Regions from separate parts of the Homo sapiens genome. Here region 1 is linked to region 2. The links are contacts of gene promoters, found by promoter capture Hi-C in blood cells and fetal thymus (Javierre and others, 2016). All regions are on one chromosome and are shown on one strand. The core of a region is centred on a gene start or on the middle of the fragment in contact, and the rest is flanking DNA. Distances in the headings are between cores, read along the strand shown.

Region 1 (3,742 bases), core at 634-3,133, 260 kb before region 2:
CCTCATTTGTAAAAAGGAGATTAACTCTGTAGTCCCGCCTATATTGCATGGCCTCCAGAAAAGCAAATGAGGTGGTAAGTGTAAATTAAAAGCTCCTCTCCTTTAAGAGGGGAACACCATGAGGGGAGAGTAAGAAAAGGAGAAGGAAAAGGCTCTTTCCAGTGACCAACACGCTGAATTTGATGAAAATCCATAAGAGGTTATGCTAAACTGAGAAGCATAAGGGTGGATCTACCATTGCCACCTCCTCTTTGTAGCAAAAAAAATCTTAACACGGCCCCCTCCCAGCTGTTGCACTGAGGTGACTAAGGATACATTTTGAGGAAGTAGCTCCAAGAACATTTCCATTTTCACTGTGCCTTCACATACATCTAATGGAAATGAACAGCACCCTTCATCCATCCACGGAAGCGATTAAGAAAAGGGTGGGATGGAAAAATTAACCCAACAATATTAGATCAATACGTAGTATTTAAGTGTCCATAATGTGCCAGGCTGAAGATGCACGGGAAAACCACACTAGCCGGTCTGTCAAGGGCTTGAGAATACCATAAACAAGAAAACAGACGAACCAATTTCAGACAGCTGCTAGAAGGAAGATAAAATGAGACAGGCAAGTATGAGAGGCGCGAATTCCTGAGTGGATGACGTAGGTCTCTGAGAGGTGACTTTTGAGCCCGTATCTACATGGTAAGTGCCTCGCAGTGACCTGGGGCCGTAGCGTTACCATTTAAAGCACAGACCATTAAATGCAGAAATTATCAACAAAATGAGAAATAGGAATTTCAAAGTCTCAAAGTGAACGACGGAAACTGAAATCTACAAATTAGAAAAAGGCGCAGAATTTTGAATATTCTTGTCGCCCAATCAGGACAAGGCTGGGACCCGGCTGCGCGGCCTTCGTCCAAAATACACAGAACGGCTGGTATCCACAGGAGGCCCCATCGCACGGCAGAACTGGTGACCGGACACAAAAGCTGCTGCCAAGCGTCAGTCATACAGAGCTGTCACGCAGTGTTTGCGGAACCCGGGCTGAATTGTGTCCTGGAGTTCTCTTAAATGACAGCCGAACTCAGCCACTTCGTTTTAGAATGAAACAGACCCAAGGAGCCACCAGGGCGCGTGTGGGGCGGGAGTGGGGGCGGGTAAAGAGGCGGATTCCCAACAGCCTAATTGAGAACCGACTCCTGGGAAGGCTAAGCAGCACAATGAGTAAAGACACGCTCTAGATTCAAAAGCAAATCCAATGACGCACTGGGGACCTCGAGTTCCAAATAGTTAAAAAGCTACGTATGCCATTTCCCATGACCTTCACACTAAAATAACTTACTTTATGAAAAGAAACTAAGGGAATAAGTGAACAAGCTCTTTTCTAGTGATTAGGTGGGTGGCTCTGAAAAGAGCCTTTGGAGTCAAGCAGCCGGCGACTCGAGCGAGCGAGCGCCAGGTCCCGGCAGGGACTCACTTGGAGCTGGTGTACTTGGTGACCGCCTTGGTGCCCTCGGACACGGCGTGCTTGGCCAGCTCGCCGGGCAGCAGCAGGCGCACGGCCGTCTGGATCTCGCGGGATGTGATGGTGGAGCGCTTGTTGTAGTGCGCCAGGCGGGAAGCCTCTCCCGCGATGCGCTCGAAGATGTCGTTGACGAAGGAGTTCATGATGCCCATGGCCTTGGACGAGATGCCGGTGTCGGGGTGGACCTGCTTCAGCACCTTGTACACGTAGATGGAGTAGCTCTCTTTGCGGCTGCGCTTGCGCTTCTTGCCGTCTTTCTTCTGGGCTTTGGTGACGGCTTTCTTGGAGCCCTTTTTAGGGGCCGGAGCGGATTTTGCCGGTTCAGGCATGGTAAGACACAGTACAAACGCGGCTTAGCCAAGAAAAGAAGTAAGAGAATGGGCGGGCCTGATTCTTTTATAACCACCTTATGCAAATTAGGGCTCCGAAAGTCGTTCATTTCCATTGGTCCGTGTGCGGACCTTGCGTTTTCAGCAATGCGTACGTAACAACACCGACTCTTGACTTGATTGGCCGGTTCTGAAGCCATATTAGGACCAATGAAAAACTCGTTCTTGACCCCACCCCTAGGAAAGCTTATAAAGGCTTTCCTCTTGGTTCTCTTTCAATCTTATTTTGTTGCGAGGTTCTGAGCGTTGTCTGTGTTTAACCTTGATTTCAGTCATGTCTGGTCGTGGCAAACAAGGAGGCAAGGCCCGCGCCAAGGCCAAGTCGCGCTCGTCCCGCGCTGGCCTCCAGTTCCCGGTAGGGCGAGTGCACCGCTTGCTGCGCAAAGGCAACTACGCGGAGCGGGTGGGGGCCGGCGCGCCCGTCTACATGGCGGCGGTCCTCGAGTACCTGACCGCCGAGATCCTGGAGCTGGCGGGCAACGCGGCTCGGGACAACAAGAAGACGCGCATCATCCCTCGTCACCTCCAGCTGGCCATCCGCAACGACGAGGAACTGAACAAGCTGCTGGGCAAAGTCACCATCGCCCAGGGCGGCGTTTTGCCTAACATCCAGGCCGTTCTGTTACCAAAGAAAACCGAAAGCCACAAAGCCAAAAGCAAATAAATGCAGACAAACAAACCAAGACCAAAGGCTCTTTTTAGAGCCACCCAAGTTTTCAAAAAAAGAGCTAATGCGCTATTTCGTGATCAGCCCTTCATTTGACACTTTGGTGGCTCTTAAAAGAGCCTTTGGGGTGAATGAGTATGGTGTCAAGCCTCTTAATTACTTGTTCTTGCCAGGCTTGTGACTCTCCGTTTTCTTGGGCAACAGGACAGCCTGGATATTGGGCAAGACGCCGCCCTGGGCAATGGTGACACCCCCGAGTAACTTGTTGAGCTCTTCGTCATTCCTCACGGCTAGTTGCAGATGGCGAGGGATGATGCGCGTCTTCTTGTTGTCCCGAGCCGCGTTGCCCGCCAGCTCCAGAATTTCCGCGGTCAGGTACTCGAGGACCGCCGCCAGGTACACCGGGGCGCCTGCCCCGACCCGCTCCGCGTAGTTGCCTTTGCGCAGCAAGCGGTGCACTCGCCCCACCGGGAACTGGAGACCAGCGCGGGACGAGCGCGACTTGGCCTTAGCGCGGGCCTTGCCTCCCTGCTTTCCGCGTCCTGACATTACGGCTAAAATTGCAGTTACAGCTTCTTTTACAAGGAGAAGAATGTGGAAAGAATAACCAATTTGATGTAATTTATAAGAGCTACCGGGAGGGGTGAAGGGAAGTCGTTTGATTGGCTAAAAGCGGAGCCGTATCTAACAGCCAATAGAAAAGCAGAAAGCCGCCTCTTGGTTTGCGTCCTGCACTGAAAGGAAATGACGGATTTTGTAAGTATCTACCAATCGCTGAGAGCCACATTAAAGCCCCTTATTTGCATGCCAGGATCTTTAAAGAGAGCAGGCTTTCAAACAAAATACTGGTTTTGTTTTACTGAGAGGCACTGTGGGTTTTTGTTTTGTTTTGCTTTGCTTTGTTTAGTTTACAGCCGGGAAATCCCAATATGGACCCTAAGGAACTGCAGAAGACATCCTTAGACGGAGAGTTACTCTCACGAAAGAGTAGGGGATTCTGAAGCCGATGATCCCCTTGAGCTCTAAACTGCCAAGTCCCGCCCTTTCTGTCTCGTCACAGCCAAATTCCCTTTAAAAATACATGTACTACTAAGGCTGCCTCCTTTCTCGCCCCTAAACTTAAGTCGCCCGCAGCGGCGTGTCTCCGCCCCACCCCCACCCGCCTGCACTCCT
Region 2 (4,107 bases), core at 926-3,425:
GGGTTTCGACATGTTGGTCAGGCTGGTCTTGAACTTCTGACCTCAAATGATCCACCCGCCTCGGCCTCCCAAAGTGCTGGGATTACAGGCGTGAGCCACCACACGCAGCCCAATATTTGTTGACTGATAGAAACTACTGGGAAAGGAGGAAGATGGGGCAAATGATGAATTACTTTTTTCCCATAAATCAGAATCTATTTAAATGATAACTCTAAACCACTCCTGTGTGTTTGTCCAGCAAGCCCTCAAAAAATCGTGCAGGCTATTTGCTCACCAGTACATTTGGACATTTTGCATCCTCACATATGAAGACACCCTGGATTTGCTCATTATTTTTTCATCGCTCTTTAAACAGGGGGTTAGAAAATAGAGACGGTGGAAAGGGGACAAGATGGTTTGGGGAACGTGGTGTGTGCACACTCATGCCCATGGGAGGGGGTTACAAAATCTGAAGAGGAGACTGCAGTCAGGAAGCCTGGATTCTAATCCATTTAGCCAGTAACTTGATGTATAAACTTGGGCAAGTCAGTTTATCTGGCATGCCCTGTTTCCTCATTTTCCAAATGGAAATATTAATACTCTATATACCTTACAAGGTGGCATTAAAAGTGTAAAGAAATGACATATAAGAGCATTTTGAAAGGATAAAGTTCTGTGTCAGTCTAAAATCGTGGAATTAATTGGTATGGTGAATGGAAAGAAGTTGAGAGGAATATCATTGGATTAGGAGGAAAGGTGGAACTGGAAAAGAGAGGGAGCCCCTCCTTCATTTGACAGACACCAGAAAAAGTCAAAAGAGCCTCCACTATTCAAACCACAAATCTAGCCAACACTTTTATCTTGAGACATCTCTGGAAAAATGATTTTTCCTTTTCCCTGCTCCTCAGTGCCAGGGATTTTTATTCATTTTGTGGTTACTGCATGCTTGCCATATGCCAGGCAATGTGTTTATTAGCTTATTATGATTTCAAAATTAGCCCTGGAAGACAACACATATCTTCAAAGGACTCTCAGAGGTCATCTCATATCTTCCCCTAGCTTTCCTTGTTGATAAAAATGGCAGTTCATCCCTCACCACTTAATACGTGGAGGGACGCGGGCCTAAAGAAATTCAGTGACTTGACCAAAGCCCAGAGTGGTGATGAAACCAGTACCCAAGCGCGGGGTTTCTCACTCCCCTTTTCCATCACACGTATATATATTAAAAAGACATGAAGTTACTAAGATGTGTCCTGGAGGCTCTGAGGCAGATCTGCTGTAGGAGGGATCAGCAGAGGCTTCTCTAGTCAGGGCATTCTCTGGGCGTTCAGCCCTTCCCTCCACTGGGCTCCAGCGCTGTAGAGAGGGTGGGGTTTTTACCTATCAGTATAGCGGGAAAAGATACCCAGGTGGCAGGAAGTTTAAGCCTCACCTGGAACTTATATTGAAAGCCACTTGGTAGAAAGGATAATGGTTTGGAGACAGAGTTCTATTCCTGCCAGCATTGACACTGTGTCTGAAAAGCCAGCATCGACACTGTGTCTGCAAATCCCTCAGCTATTCTGAGTCTCCGTTTTCTCCCTGTGAGATGGAGATCATAAAATCCGCCTCATCCTTAGGATTATTCTCCTGAAGCTACAATAAGGCCTGAGGCATTGTACGCTGGAAGAAACGTGTATTAATAGCAACTTCTGTCCCACCCCATCCCCCAACACGTCGATCCCCTCCGGAGCATAAAACTTTCCCCCAGCATCTGACCTGCCCAGGCCACCCTAGCACCTAGGAGCGTGAATTCCTGATGCGGGTTGTGGGTGGCGCGCCCTCCCGGTTCCCGCTCTCGTTTTTGTTTTTGGTCGGGTAAGGCGATGCTGTAGAGGCTGGCGATCTCCAGTCTTCACGAATCCGCACGTCTCTCCATTATCCACCGCGCCCGCCCACTGGGCCCCGGGGCGGCCGGCGGCCGGGTCTCTCGGGCTCCGCGTGTCGCCCGAGCCGCCGCCGGAGCGAGGGTCCCTGCCCCCTGGGGAGCGGTCTCCAGCCGCTTCGAAGCCGCCTTCTTCCCCCTCCGTGAGTCAGAAACAAAGGCGGGGGGGCGGGGGGAGCGCCCGAGCTGCGGCTCCGCGATTCGCCCTTTATTCTGAACTCGCAACGTCAGCGGCCCGCGGATGGAGCTGCGGGGTGCGGACTGGGCCGCCCACAGCGCACCGGGCCGGGGGAGCGGCCGCGCTGGGCCGGGCGGGCGGGTGGCGGGGGTGCGCTCGGGGACCCGGGCCGCGTGGGCGCCGGGATGGAGGGCGCCAAGGGGCGGGGAGCGGGCGTGCGTGTGTGTGCGAGTGCGAATGCGAGGGAGGCCGGCCTTGAGTGAAACCGGAGCTACAAAGAAGGGGAGAGTCCGGGAGCGGGAGGGCGCGAGGGAGGAGCGGCGGCGCCGGGGCAGCTCCGACGCCCTCCCGCGGGGAAGGAGCCCCCGCGGTGCCGCCGAGGCCCCGACGCGGGGCCGCCCCTCGGCTCGCCGCCCCGCGCCCGCGCCCGCTGGGAATGATGAAGAAGAACAATTCCGCCAAGCGGGTGAGTGCGCTTGCCCGCCCTGCGGCCGCCGCCGCCTCCGCGCTCTGACGACCCCCGCTCCGTCGGCGCCGCGGCGGCCTGGGAGACCCACGGCCCGGCCGCGCCCCCGCCCCGGCGGCCCGGTCCCCTCGGCCTCGGCCCCGCCAGGCGCCCGCGGGGGCTTTTGTTTGTTTACTCGCCTCGGGGGGCTTCAACTTGGCTGAGTTTCCCCACGACCCGCACCTCCCCCGCCCCCGGGCGCCGGGCGAGCGTTTGCCTCGCGCTCCGCCGTGGCGAGGAGACAATGGGAGAGAAAACCAGAGAAACGCCGTTAGTCCCCGCGCGGCGAGGACGGGGCGGCGGGGGCGCAGGGCCTGGAGGGAACCTGGGAGCCTCTCCGCGCCCGGCCGGCGCCCCTGCCACTTGCAGCCCCGGTTGTTTATTCGGGAGCGGGGGAGGGGAGCGGGGGGAGTTCCTCGGAGTGAAAACCTTTCCGAAGTGGGAGCGAACCTGGGGCGGCCCCCCGCCCCCCGGCCGCAGCCTTCGGAGGAGACTGGGCCGCCGAGGCGGTCGTGAGAGACGGACGGAGAGGAAGCGCCGGCTGGAATCTCCTAACCGCCCGCTTCTCATCTTGTCCTGGGGCAGGGACCTCAGGATGGAAACCAGCAGCCTGCACCGCCCGAGAAGGTCGGCTGGGTCCGGAAATTCTGCGGGAAAGGGATTTTCAGGGAGATTTGGAAAAACCGCTATGTGGTGCTGAAAGGGGACCAGCTCTACATCTCTGAGAAGGAGGTGGGTGCCTCTTGCCTCTAACTCTCCGTTTTCTCATAGCCCCCACTTTGTCACTCCCCAAGGGCTCGCCTAGCTTACTCCACCCCCGTTTTGTTCCAAAGGCAAGTTCAGTGGTCTCCTCTCTACCCCCATCTCATCTGCAGAGAAAGGCCACCCTTTAATGAGAAGACCAGAGTGAGAATTAGAAGTTGAGTTGGCCGCTTACTCAGTGTTTTTTTGTTTGCAAATACCTTTCTAACAACGATAAGCCCCTCCCAAGATGCCCCAGAAGTTCTAAGTGTCCCTTGCTGCCTCCCACCCTAACCTGGCCTCCTGCATATAGGATTTCTTTTCTATTTCTGCTGAAACAGTTTAGCCTATTCGCCACCCCTTCCTGTCCCCCCACCTTAACCCAGCCAGCCTCCCCTTTCCTGTCTGTGGCAGGAGCGTGCACAGGTCCTGTCCGTGGCGCATCCGCCCTGAATCACAGAAAACACGCACCCCGCCGTCAGGCCCCTGTGACCTCGGGTGTGTGAGTGGCAGTTATTTTCGTTGAAGCCAGTGTCCCTAACCAGTATGCTCTCTGTTCCCCACCCCCACCCCATTTAAAAAAGGCAAGGAACCCATTTTCTACCCACTTCCTGCCCACCCCTCCATTTGTATCAGAAGGGAGAGAAATGGAGTTAAGAACCCCTGTATGTCTTTGGATAGCTTTGGCTGTGTAGTTAACCATGAAAACCACAGTCTACACTGTGTCAAGACCTGAGCTATGATAATTGAATCCAGACCCATCTCCCTTTTTTCCCTAAG

The links. Contacts are between HindIII fragments. The CHiCAGO score rates a contact against its expected background, and 5 or more counts as called.
Region 1: the fragment with the promoter of H2BC21 here is called in contact with the fragment with the promoter of PLEKHO1 in region 2 in 3 of 17 cell types (M2 macrophages, M0 macrophages and M1 macrophages); the score reaches 10.7 in M2 macrophages.

What each region holds. Positions count from the first base shown.
Region 1 is chr1:149,884,799-149,888,540 of GRCh38, forward strand. It overlaps H2BC21 (H2B clustered histone 21), which reads right to left and starts at 1,884. Exons shown (of 1, transcript NM_003528.3): 1 at 1-1,884. The coding sequence starts at 1,842. The coding sequence ends at 1,462. It overlaps H2AC20 (H2A clustered histone 20), which reads left to right and starts at 2,120. Exons shown (of 1, transcript NM_003517.3): 1 at 2,120-2,613. The coding sequence starts at 2,177. The coding sequence ends at 2,566. H2AC21 (H2A clustered histone 21) reads right to left here and starts at 3,167. Exons shown (of 1, transcript NM_175065.3): 1 at 2,671-3,167. The coding sequence starts at 3,118. The coding sequence ends at 2,726. RefSeq lists enhancers at 487-1,080, 858-937, 1,348-1,437, 1,508-1,797, 2,118-2,187 and 5 more. The HindIII fragment of the contact is 10,069 bases long and covers 1-2,086 here.
Region 2 is chr1:150,147,741-150,151,847 of GRCh38, forward strand. PLEKHO1 (pleckstrin homology domain containing O1) reads left to right here and starts at 2,176. Exons shown (of 6, transcript NM_016274.6): 1 at 2,176-2,547; 2 at 3,172-3,318. The coding sequence starts at 2,518. RefSeq lists silencers at 1,804-2,263, 2,404-2,483 and an enhancer at 2,116-2,616. The HindIII fragment of the contact is 16,730 bases long and covers 1-4,107 here.